Regions from separate parts of the Homo sapiens genome. Here region 2 is linked to region 1. Evidence: promoter capture Hi-C in human tissues and cell types (Jung and others, 2019). All regions are on one chromosome and are shown on one strand. The core of a region is centred on a gene start or on the middle of the fragment in contact, and the rest is flanking DNA. Distances in the headings are between cores, read along the strand shown.

Region 1 (6,215 bases), core at 1,622-4,121:
GAGGGAGAATTTGGGGGACAGACCATCCATGGTACATGAAGGACAGGGATGCCCCGTCCTTCCCACCCATAAGGCCCACCTTCCCACTCTTGTGGCTCACAGATTCCACCAAAACTTCATTTACCTCTCACTGTGTAATCTGGGGATGAAACCAGATCCTGGTTTCATTCTCTTCTGCCTTTGGGAAATAGGTCTGTCTTTTCTCTCAATTTTGGAAACCGTCTCTGCAGCTCCAGGGAAAACTCCTGAGTCCTGAGGGGTAGCAAAGGCTGCAGACAAACTCTTAGGCCAGGAAACAGAAGACCTGCTTCTCGGCAAATCTGCCTCAGTTTCCCTGTTGGTCAAATGAGGGAATTGGGCAAGATGCTCACTAAGCAGCTTCCTGCTCTAACTTCTTCTTTCGAGGGAAAAACTAAAGTGGCACAGCCTAGGGCTGTGCTGTCTAATATGGCAGCCACGAGCCATGTGTGGCTACCGAGCACATAAAATGTGACTAGTCCAAACTGAGATATGCTATAGATAAATCTCAAAAAATCTCTCTCAAAAAATAAAAAATAAAATAAATTAGTACACTAGATTTATATATGGGAGGCAGAATTCAGATGACCCCTCCTCAATGATCCTCATCCCTGTATAATCTCCTCCTCTTTAAGTGTAGGTGGAACCCGTGAATGTATATTATATGGCAGAAGGGAGAGTGCCCTGGGTGGGCCTGGACTAATCAGGTGAGAGTTTTAAAGCCAGAGATTTTTCTCTGGCTGGTTACAGGAGAGGAATTCAGCACTCTGATGTCCCTGAAAGAAAGCAAGCATTCATGCTATGAACTGCCTATGGGGCAGCTTCTAGAATCTGAGATTGATCCCTCGGAGACAGCTAACAGGAAAAGAGAGACCTCAGTCCTATAACCACAAGGAAATGAATTCTGCCAACAATCTGTGAGCTTGGAAGAAAACTCTGAAGCTCACATGAGAACCTCAACCCTGGCCAACACCTTGGCTTCAACCTGGTGAGACCCTGAGGGTCCAGCCAGGCCATGCCCAGACTTCTGACCTACAGAAACCATGAGATCATAAATTTGTATTGTTTTAAGCTACTAAATTGTGGTAATTTGTTATGTAGCAATAAGAAAAATTAGTACTGGATTTTAGAGACTTAGTACAAAAAAAAGAAAATGTAAAATATCTCAATAATTTCTTTACTGATTCCAATGTTGAAATCATAATATTTTAGATTTAATAAAATATATCACTAAAAATACAGTTGATCCTGAAACAACACGAGTTTGAACTGCTAGTGTCCACTTACATGCAGATTTTTTTCCAATAAATACATTGGAAAATTTTTGGAGATTTGTGACAATTTGAAAAAACTTACAGATGAACCATGTAGACTAGAAATATCAAAAGCCTTAAGAATAAGTTAGATATGTCGTGAATGCCTAAGATATATGTAGATACTATTTATGTGTCAATCGACTGTTTATATTATTGGTAAGGTTTCTGGCGAACAGTAAGTTATTACTAGTTAAGTTTCAGGGGAGTCAAAAGTTATATTCTAATTTTCTAGGCATGGAGGAGTGGTTTCCCTAACCCCCACTGTTTAAGGGGTAACTGTAATTTCGCCTGTTTTTTACTTCTTTAAAATGTTGCAATCAGAAATGTAAAAGGACATATGTGGGCCGGACGCGGTGGCTCATGCCTGTAATCTCAGCATTTTGTGAGGCCAAGGCAGGTGGATCATTTGAGGCCAGGAGTTCAAGACCAGCCTGGCCAACATGGTGAAACCCCTTCTGTACTAAAAATACAAAAATTAGCTGGGCATGGTGGTGCATGCCTGTAATCCCAGCTACTCAGGAGGCTGAGGCAGGAGAATCGCTTGAACCCAGGAGGCGGAGGTTGCAGTGAGCCAAGATTGTGCCACTGCACTCCAGCCTGCAACAGAGTGAGTGAGACTCTATCTCAAAAAATCAAAAATAAAATAAAATAAAATTATATATGTGGCTCACATTATAGGTGTTGGACTGTGCTGGCCTAGAGGACTCAGAAGTCAGCCATGGGACCTCCGGCAAGTCACCACACCTCTCAAAGCAGTTCTTATCTGTGAGATAGGAATAATAGTAGCACTTACCCCACAGATAAATTTGCAGTTTGAGTGAGATTGAGGTCTGTGCTTGACCCAAGGTAAGTACTCAATAAACGTTGGTAATTATCATTATTATTAATAACAATATGTGCAAAGGCTCATATCCAGGCCCTAGTCTCCAGGAGCCTCTCCCCAACCAGGCACACAGCAGCCACACAACAGGTACATGTGTGGGGATTTCACAACCTCTACAAAGCTCTTTGGCACATGTTCTCTGCCCTCACAACCCACTTGGCAGGTGGGAATCAGGAACCCGTGGGCAGGTAAGGACACTGCGCCTCAGGGGTAAAATGATCGTTTCAAGCTTCACAACTCACCTAGGAAGAACCTGGGGCTCCAAGGGAGATGAGGCCACCTTCTACAGCTCCCTAACTCAGATGCCCACGGTCTGAGAAAATGACTGGAGCTCACCCCTAAAATGGGCGACATAAGATCCTGGCCCTGTCAAGTGTGTGTGCCAGGAATAACTGAGATCAATCACTTGCAGCAGCTGAAGTACCCTGGCACATACTAAACACTCAATTAAGTAAATCATGATTACTGTTGTTCCTTTGCCAGAGAAGCTTCTGCTGAAATCCCTCTCTACGGGGAATCCTCACGCCCTAAATGACCCCTCCTTCCCGGCCCGTAACTCCGGAGGATGCCCCTGCAGGTAGGCCCAGTCTCCAGACACCACCACCCCCCAGCCGAGTCAGGAATAGAAACCGCCGCCTCCGGCCGCCAGCGGCCTCACTCCCTCCTCCGGCAGCGATCGATGCGGCCTTCAGCCGCGGGGGACTAGGCAAGGAAGAAGGAAGGAGAGGGCAGCGGGGCCGCCTGCAGCAGGAGGCTCGGCGGGGCCGGCGGGGCAGAGGCGAGACCGAGTATAGCCAGCGGCTCCCAGCCTCGGTGGCTTTGGGACAGACACGCGAGGCGCCCGGGAGGTGCCACCACAGGTAAGGGGCCTCCTTTGGGGAGGGACGTGGCTCCGGGACGGTCCCGGGCAGCCAGAGTGGGAGGCGGGGCTGCCTGGGGCTCCTGGTGCTCTTACCCCCTCTAAGAGACCCCCCACCCCCCGCCAAGGAGGAAGCAGTGTGGGGTGGCCGCGCTTTGGAGACCCTGGCTGGTACAGTTTGCTCATCTGTAAAATGGGATTAGAAAACCTCCCTGGCAGGGTTGGTGTAGGGATTAAACCGAGTGAGGTGTGCATGGAGCCCAGAGGAGTGACTAGCAGATAGGAGGTGCTCAAAATAAGTGTGTGGAGAGAGAATGAAATAAAAAAACCTGGTCTCCAACCTTAGCTGTGCCATGGACTAGCTGGGTGATTTTGAACAAGTCACTTGGTCTTTCTTACTGATATTCAGGTTCTTGTCAGAAAATGTTTGTTGAATTAATTATCCTGTTTCATAGAGCAGGAAAGTGAGCTCCTGATGGATGAAGGGATTTGCCCAATATTATGCTTCTAATGGGTGATGGAACTGGATTAGAAATTTCATTTTTTGATGCCAAATGCAGGTGGAGATCCAAGTGGAGGTGGGAGCGGAGCTACATCACACGTTTATTGTGCATTGATTATGTGCCAGGGACCATGCTGCCGATAAACACCTTGCATCATTTAATTCTCTGAGCCTCTCCTGGAAAGTATGATGCTACCCGGTTCCACAGACAGGGAAACAAGCCCAGAGAGGGCGACGAATGCACTCAAGGACAGCAGCTAGTAAGTGGTAGACTCAGGTCTGACCACAGGGAAGTACACAGGATTAACATTTATTGAGCATCTACTGTTTTCCCAGGGCTTTGACATATACCACAATAATGATGCATCCAAAGCAACATTATCCCCATTCTAGAGGTAAAAGAGCTAAAGCCCAGAGTGGGAAGGAGACTGGCCTGAGGTCACACAAGTGATAGAGCTAAGGGTGGAACCCCAAATCCATTTAATGCCAAGCCCAGGTGCTTTACACACACTTAATCCCTAGTCTAGGCATTACTGAACCCACAGTGCAAATGAGATTGCCAGTGGTGAGGAGGTGTCACTAGCCCCCAATTCCAGCAGAGTCAGGAGTCAGTGGGTAGTGGAAGAACCTAAATCCTTCCTGAGTATCCACTAAGGCTGAGCACTTTCTATAATCTACCTTAATCCTCCAGTCATCCCTGGAGGTAGGTGCTATTATCTACGTTGTGCAGGAAATTGAGACCTGGAGGACAAATAGCTTCCTCAAGGCCCCAGGTGCGTCAGGGGTGGAGATAAACCCAGGTTTGCCTGACTCCAGAAGATAGTGACACCAGTGAATAATTTATTAAATTCCTTCTGTGAGCCAAGCCCAAGAAAGACACTAGGTCATTTAATCTTCATAACCACACTTTGAGGTGAATATTTTTATTTCCATTTCACAGAGGCTCAGAGAGGTGATGTTACTTGCCTAAGGTGACACAAGAGAGTCAAGATTCAAGGTCAGGTCTGGCTGACTCTACAGATGCTTTACATAATCTAAAGCAGGAGCTCTCAAACTTGACTATGTAGCCGAATCACTTTCCAATCTTGTTAGAACACAAAGTGCTAGACCCCACCCTTAGAGTTCCCGATTCAGTAAATCGATGGCAGGCTGAGAATTTGCATCTTTGACAAATTCCCAGGTGATGCTGATGCTGCTGGTCCGGGGAACACACTATGAGAACCTCCGGTCTAAAGTGGTGCTGCCAACACCCCTAGGAGGTAAGTGTTACTATCCTCATTTTGCAGAAGAAACAGGTTCAGAGGGCTGGCGGGCCCAAGATCCCACAGTAGACCTTTGGTGTAAATAAATCCAAGTTTGTCCTGGAAAAGGAGACATCCTATGTGAGCACCCACTAGGTGCCAGGACATCCTGCGATTCCATCGCTTTCATATCCTTCCAGGTAGATCTCAGCATTTACTTTCCAAAGGAGAAAAATGAAATGGGGGTGGGGTGGGTCAGTGATTTGGCCAAAGTCAAATGATGGGGATGAAGGATAGTCAAAGCCAGGCCTGACTCTGAGTCCAGAGGGCACCTGACATCTACTGAGCGCCTCCTGCATACCAGATGCTTCACACACAGCCTCCAACACCCCTTGGCTGGTTGGATGGAGGAGGGGATTTTAACCTGGTCTTCCAGGAAGGGAAGCCCGGGAACTCCTCAGCGCGCCCTTCTGGTGTCCGCAGGGAGGAGCACTGAAACCTTTGTGAGCGAGTTCCCGGGCCCCGACACCGGGATCCGCTGGCGGCGAAGCGACGAGGCGCTGCGCGTGAACGTGGGTGGCGTGCGGCGGCAGCTGAGCGCGCGCGCCCTGGCGCGCTTCCCGGGCACGCGGCTGGGCCGCCTGCAGGCCGCGGCGTCGGAGGAGCAGGCGCGGCGCCTGTGCGACGACTACGACGAGGCGGCGCGCGAATTCTACTTCGACCGGCACCCGGGCTTCTTCCTGAGCCTGCTGCACTTCTACCGCACTGGCCACCTGCACGTGCTCGACGAGCTGTGCGTCTTCGCCTTTGGCCAGGAGGCCGACTACTGGGGCCTAGGCGAGAACGCGCTTGCCGCGTGCTGCCGCGCGCGCTACCTGGAGAGGCGGCTGACCCAGCCGCACGCCTGGGACGAGGACAGCGACACGCCGAGCAGCGTGGACCCGTGCCCCGACGAGATCTCCGACGTGCAGCGAGAACTGGCGCGCTATGGCGCGGCGCGCTGTGGCCGCCTGCGCCGCCGCCTCTGGCTGACCATGGAGAACCCGGGCTACTCGCTGCCGAGCAAGCTCTTCAGCTGCGTCTCCATCAGCGTGGTGCTCGCCTCCATCGCCGCCATGTGCATCCACAGCCTGCCCGAGTACCAGGCCCGCGAGGCGGCGGCCGCCGTGGCTGCGGTGGCCGCGGGCCGCAGCCCGGAAGGCGTGCGCGACGACCCGGTGCTGCGACGCCTCGAGTACTTCTGCATCGCCTGGTTCAGCTTCGAGGTGTCGTCGCGCCTCCTGCTGGCGCCCAGTACGCGCAACTTCTTCTGCCACCCGCTCAACCTCATCGACATTGTGTCTGTGCTGCCCTTCTATCTCACGCTGCTGGCTGGTGTGGCACTGGGCGACCAGGG
Region 2 (6,215 bases), core at 2,603-5,102, 590 kb before region 1:
GTCCCACTCTAATTTCTGATATTAGTTATTTGTGTCTTTTCTCTTTTCTTCTTAGTCAATCTAGCTAAAGATTTTCAATTTTATTGATCTTTTAAAAAAACCAAGCTTTGGTCTTGTTGATTCTTTTTATTGGTTTTCTATTTCCTATTCCATTTTTCTGTGCTCACATGTTTATTATTTCCTTCCTTCTGCTAGCTTTGGGTGTATTTGTTCTTCTCTTTCTAGTTTCGTATGATGTAAAGTTAGGTTGCAGATTTGAGATCTTTTTTTTTTTTTTTTTTTTTGAGACGGAGTCTTGCTCTGTCGCCTAGGCTGGAGTGCAGTGGCGCGATCTTGGCTCACTGCAACCTCTGCCTCCTGGGTTCAAGCGATTCTCCTGCCTCAGACTCCTGAGTAGCTGGGACTACAAGGCTCATACCACCATGCCCAGTTAATTTTTGTATTTTTAGTAGAGGTGGGGTTTCACTGTGTTAGCCAGGATGGTCTCGATCTCCTGACCTCGTGATCTGCCTGCCTCGGCCTCCCAAAGTGCTGGGATTACAGGCGTGAGCCACTGCGCCTGGCCGTGCTCTTTTTTAATGTAAGTATTTACAGTTATAGATTTTCTACCCTGAGAACTACTTTTACTGCATCTCATAAGTTTTTGGATGTTGTGTTTTGTGTTTTCATTTTCATTCATCCGAAAGTTTTTTTTCTAAGTAGTTGGGACTACAGGTGCATACCACCATGCCCAGTTAGTTAGTTTTTTGTAGAGACAGGGTCTTTTTATGTTGCCAGGCTGGTCTTGAATTCCTGGGCTCAAGTGATCCACCCACCTCAGCCTCCCAAAGTGCTGGGATTACAGGCATGAGTCAACATGCCTGGCTCAAATTATTTTCTAATTTCCGTTGTGATTTATTCTTTGACTCATTGGTTGTTTTAGAGTGTATTAATTTCACATTTTTGAGAATTTTCCAGTTTTCCTTCTCTTATTGATTTCTAGCTTTGTTCCATTGTGGCTGGAGAAGATAGTTTGTATAATTTCAATCTTTTAAAATGTATTTAGGCTTGTTTTGTGGCCTAACATGTAGTTTATCCTGGAGTATGTTCCATATGTGCTTGAGAAGAATATGCATTCTCTTCTTGTCTTAGGTCTGTCTTAGGTTTATAGTGTTGTTTAGTACCCTATTTCCTTATTGATTTTTCTGTCTACATGTTCTATTCATTATTGAAAGAGGGCCTGGAATGCTTTCCAACACCAACAACCAATTCTCCTATCTCTGGACACCAACTGGGTGTTCCAAAATTTAATTTAATTCTGACACTAACTACTTGAAGTTAGTGCAGACCCCACAGCTTATAGGCTTGATTTCACAAGACTACTCCCAACTTCAGGTGCCAGTTGCAAGTCTTGGGCCTCCTGCACTTTTGATCTACTGGCTATAAATCAGGGGCTCCCACAATCCCATCTGAAAGTTTGATAATTTGCTGAAACAGCTCACAGAACTCAGGAAACACTTTACTTAAGGTTTATCAGTTTATTATAAAGGATACAAATGAATAGCCAGATGAAGTAAATAGGGTGAGCTTCAGAAGGGTCCCAAGCACAGGAATTTCTGTCCTTGTGAGTTGTGTGTGCCACCCTCCTGGCACATGGATGTGTTCACCAATTCAGAAGCTCATCAAATCTTATTGTTTAAGAGTTTTTATAGAGCTTCAACTCCTTCCTTCTTTAACTTCCTGGAGGAGAGTGGGTGGGTCTAAAATTTCCAGACCTCTAATCACTTGACCTTTCTGGTGACCAGCTCCATCCTGAGGCTACCTAGGGGCCCCACTCCAAGTAACCTCATTAGCAGAAACTGAGGTGGAATCGAAAGGGGCTTCTTATGAATATCAAAAGACACACCCATCACTCAGGAAATTCCAAGAGTTTTAGGAACCTTGTGCCAGGAACTGGGGACAAAGACCAAATATATTTCTTATGATGCCATGGTGGGATATTGAACTCTCCAACTATTTTGTAGTGCTTCGTCTCCCTTCAATCCTGTGGTGTTTGCTTCATATATTTTGAAGCTCTATTGCTTGGTGTGTATATGTTTATAATTTTTATATCTTTTTGATGAATTGACCCTTTTATCGATATATAATCATGTTTTTTGTTTCTTTTAACAATATTTGACACAATGTGTATTTTGTTTGACTTTAATATAATAATCACAGCTCTTTTTGCTACTATTTGCCATATGCAGAAAATTGAAACTGGGCCTCTTCCTTATGCCTTATACAAAAATTAACTCAAGATGGATTAAAGGCTTAACTGTAAAACTCCAGACTATAAAAACTCTAGAAGAAAATCTGGGCAATACCATTCAGGACATAGGCATTGGCAAAGATTTCATGACAAAATCACCAAAAGCAATTGCAACAAAAGCAAAAATTGACAAATGGCATCTAATTAAACTAAAGAGCTTCTGTACAGCAAAATAGACTATCATCAGAGTGAACAGACAACCTACAAAATGGGAGAAAATGTTTGCAATCTATCCACCTGACAAACGTCTAGTATCCAGAGTCTACAAGGAACTTAAATTTATAAGAAAAAACAAACAGGAGGAGGAGCCAAGATGGCTGAATAGGAACAGCTCCGTTCTACAGCTCCTAGCGTGAGCGATGAAGAGGACGGGTGATTTCTGCATTTCCATCTGAGGTACCGGGTTCATCTCACTAGGGAGTGCCAGACAGTGGGCGCAGGTCAGTGGGTGCAGCGCACCGTGCGCAAGCCGAAGCAGTGCGAGGCATTGCCTCACTCGGGAAGCGCAAGGGGTCAGGGAGTTCCTTTTCCTAGTCAAAGAAAGGGGTGACAGACGGCACCTGGAAAATCGGGTCACTCCTACCCCAATACTGTGCTTTTCCGACAGGCTTAAAAAACGGCGCACCAGGAGATTATATCCCACACCTGGCTCGGAGGGTCCTATGCCCACCGAGTCTCGCTGATTGCTAGCACAGCAGTCGGAGATCAAACAGCAAGGCGGCAGCAAGGCTGGGGGAGGGGCGCCCACCATTGCACAGGCTTGCTTAGGTAAACAAAGCAGCCGGGAAGCTCCAACTGGGTGGAGCCCACCACAGCTCAAGGAGGCCTGCCTGCCTCTGTAGGCTCCACCTCTGGGGGCAGGGCACAGACAAACAAAGACAGCAGTAACTTCTGCAGACTTACATGTCCCTGTCTGACAGCTTTGAAGAGAGCAGTGGTTCTCCCAGCATGCAGCTGGAGATCTGAGAATGGGCAGACTGCCTCCTCAAGTGGGTCCCTGACCCCTGACTCCTGAGCAGCCTAACTGGGAGGCACCCCCCAGTAGGGGCAGACTGACACCTCACACAGCTGGGTACTCCTCTGAGACAAAACTTCCAGAGGAACGATCAGACAGTAGCATTCGCGGTTCACGAAAAACCACTGTTCTGCAGACACCGCTGCTGATACCCAGGCAAACAGGGTCTGGAGTGGACCTCTAGCAAACTCCAACAGACCTGCAGCTAAGGGTCCTGTCTGTTAGAAGGAAAACTAACAAACAGAAAGGACATCCACACCAAAAACCCATCTCTACATTACCATCATCAAGACCAAAAGTAGATAAGACCACAAAGATGGGGAAAAAACAGAGCAGAAAAACTGGAAACTCTGAAAAGCACAGCACCTCTCCTCCTCCAAAGGAACACAGTTCCTCACCAGCAATGGAACAAAGCTGGACGGAGAATGACTTTGACAAGTTGAGAGAAGAAGGCTTCAGACGATCAAACTACGAGCTACAGGAGGAAATTCAAACCAAAGGCAAAGAAGTTAAAAACTTTGAAAAAAATTTAGACGAATGTATAACTAGAATAACCAATACAGAGAAGTGCTTAAAGGAGCTGATGGAGCTGAAAGCCAAGGCTCGAGAACTACATGAAGAATGCAGAAGCCTCAGGAGCCAATGTGATCAACTGGAAGAAAGGGTATCAGTGATGGAAGACGAATGAAATGAAGCGAGAAGGGAAGTTTAGAGAAAAAGGAATAAAAACAAATGAACAAAGCCTCCAAGAAATATGGGACTATGTGAAAAGACCAAATCTACGTCTGATTGGTGTACCTGAAAGTGACAGAGAGAATGGAACCAAGTTGGAAAACACTCTGCAGGTTATTATCCAGGAGAACTTCCCCAATCTAGCAAGGCAGGCCAACATTCAGATTCAGGAAATACAGAGAATGCCACAAAGATACTCCTCGAGAAGAGCAACTCCAAGACACATAATTGTCAGATTCACCAAAGTTGAAATCAAGGAAAAAATGTTAAGGGCAGCCAGAGAGAAAGGTCGGGTTACCCACAAAGGGAAGCCCATCAGACTAACAGTGGATCTCTCGGCAGAAACTCTACAAGCCAGAAGAGAGTGGGGACCAATATTCAACATCCTTAAAGGAAAGAGTTTCAACCCAGAATTTCATATCCAGCCAAACTAAGCTTCATAAGTGAAGGAGAAATAAAATACTTTATAGACAAGCAAATACTGAGAGATTTTGTCACCACCAGGCCTGCCCTAAAAGAGCTCCTGAAGGAAGCACTAAACATGGAAAGGAACAACCGTTACCAGCCACTGCAAAATCATGTCAAAATGTAAAGACCATGGAGACTAAGAAGAAACTGCATCAACTAACAAGCAAAATAACCAGCTAACATCATAATGACAGGTTCAAATTCACACATAACAATACTAACTTTAAATGTAATGGACTAAATGCTCCAATTAAAAGACACAGACTGGCAAATTGGATAAAGAGTCAAGACCCATCAGTGTGTTGTATTCAGGACACCCATCTCACATGCAGAGACACACATAGGCTCAAAATAAAAGGGTGGAGGAAGATCTACCAAGCAAATGGAAAATAAAAAAAGGCAGGGGTTGCAATCCTAGTCTCTGATAAAACAGACTTTAAACCAACAAAGATCAAAAGAGACAAAGAAGGCCATTACATAATGGTAAAGGGATCAATTCAACAAGAAGAGCTAACTATCCTAAATATATATGCGCCCAATACAGGAGCACCCAGATTCATAAAGCAAGTCCTGAGTGACCTACAAAGAGACTTAGACTCCCACACATTAATAATGGGAGACTTTAACACCCCACTGTCAACATTAGACAGATCAACGAGACAGAAAGTCAACAAGGATACCCAGGAATTGAACTCAGCTCTGCACCAAGCGGACCTAATAGACATCTACAGAACTCTCCACCCCAAATCAACAGAATATACATTTTTTTTCAGCACCACAACACACCTATTCCAAAATTGACCACATAGTTGGAGGTAAAGCTCTCCTTAGCAAATGTAAAAGAACAGAAATTATAACAAACTATCTCTCAGATCACAGTGCAATCAAACTAGAACTCAGCATTAAGAAACTCACTCAAAACCGCTCAACTACATGGAAACTGAACAACCTGCTCCTGAATGACTACTGGGTACATAACGAAATGAAGGCAGAAATAAAGATGTTCTTTGAAACCAATCAGAACAAAGACACAACATACTAGAACCTCTGGGACACATTCAAAGCAGTGTGTAGAGGGAAATTTATGACACTAAATGCCCACAAGAGAAAGCAGGAAAGATCCAAAATTGACACCCTAACATCACAATTAAAAGAACTAGAAAAGCAAGAGCAAACACATTCAAAAGCTAGCAGAAAGCAAGAAATAACTAAAATCGGAGCAGAACTGAAGGAAATAGAGACACAAAAAACCCTTCAAAAATTTAATGAATCTAGGAGCTGGTTTTTTGAAAGGATCAACAAAATTGATAGACCACTAGCAAGACTAATAAAAAAAGAGAGAAGAATCAAATAGATGCAATAAAAAATGATAAAGGGGTATCACCACCGATCCCACAGAAATACAAACTACCATCAGATAATACTACAAACACCTCTACGAAAATAAACTAGAAAATCTAGAAGAAATGGATAAATTCCTCGACACGTACACTCTCCCAAGACTAAACCAGGAAGAAGTTGAATCTCTGAATAGACCAATAACAGGAGCTGAAATTGTGGCAATAATCAATAGCTTACCAACCAAAAAGAGTCCAGGACCAGATGGATTCACAGCCGAATTCTACCAGAGGTACAAGGAGGAACTGGTACCATTCCTTCTGAAACTATTCCAACCAATAGAAAAAGAGGGAATCCTCCCTAACTCATTTT

What was found. The method cuts DNA at HindIII sites, captures the fragments that hold promoters and counts their contacts. A contact is called where the count stands out against the background at its distance.
Region 2: a contact is called between a fragment that was not itself captured here and the fragment with the promoter of KCNS1 in region 1, in 1 of the 25 tissues and cell types used here (spleen).

What each region holds. Positions count from the first base shown.
Region 1 is chr20:45,097,783-45,103,997 of GRCh38, reverse strand. KCNS1 (potassium voltage-gated channel modifier subfamily S member 1) reads left to right here and starts at 2,871. Exons shown (of 4, transcript NM_001322799.2): 1 at 2,871-3,077; 2 at 4,759-4,837; 3 at 5,303-6,215. The coding sequence starts at 4,762. The HindIII fragment of the contact is 6,202 bases long and covers 1,197-6,215 here.
Region 2 is chr20:45,690,355-45,696,569 of GRCh38, reverse strand. The region is part of intron 2 of WFDC10B (WAP four-disulfide core domain 10B); the gene reads left to right. Among named protein-coding and RNA genes, the nearest start is that of WFDC13, 8.6 kb to the left of the region's middle. The HindIII fragment of the contact is 3,126 bases long and covers 2,290-5,415 here.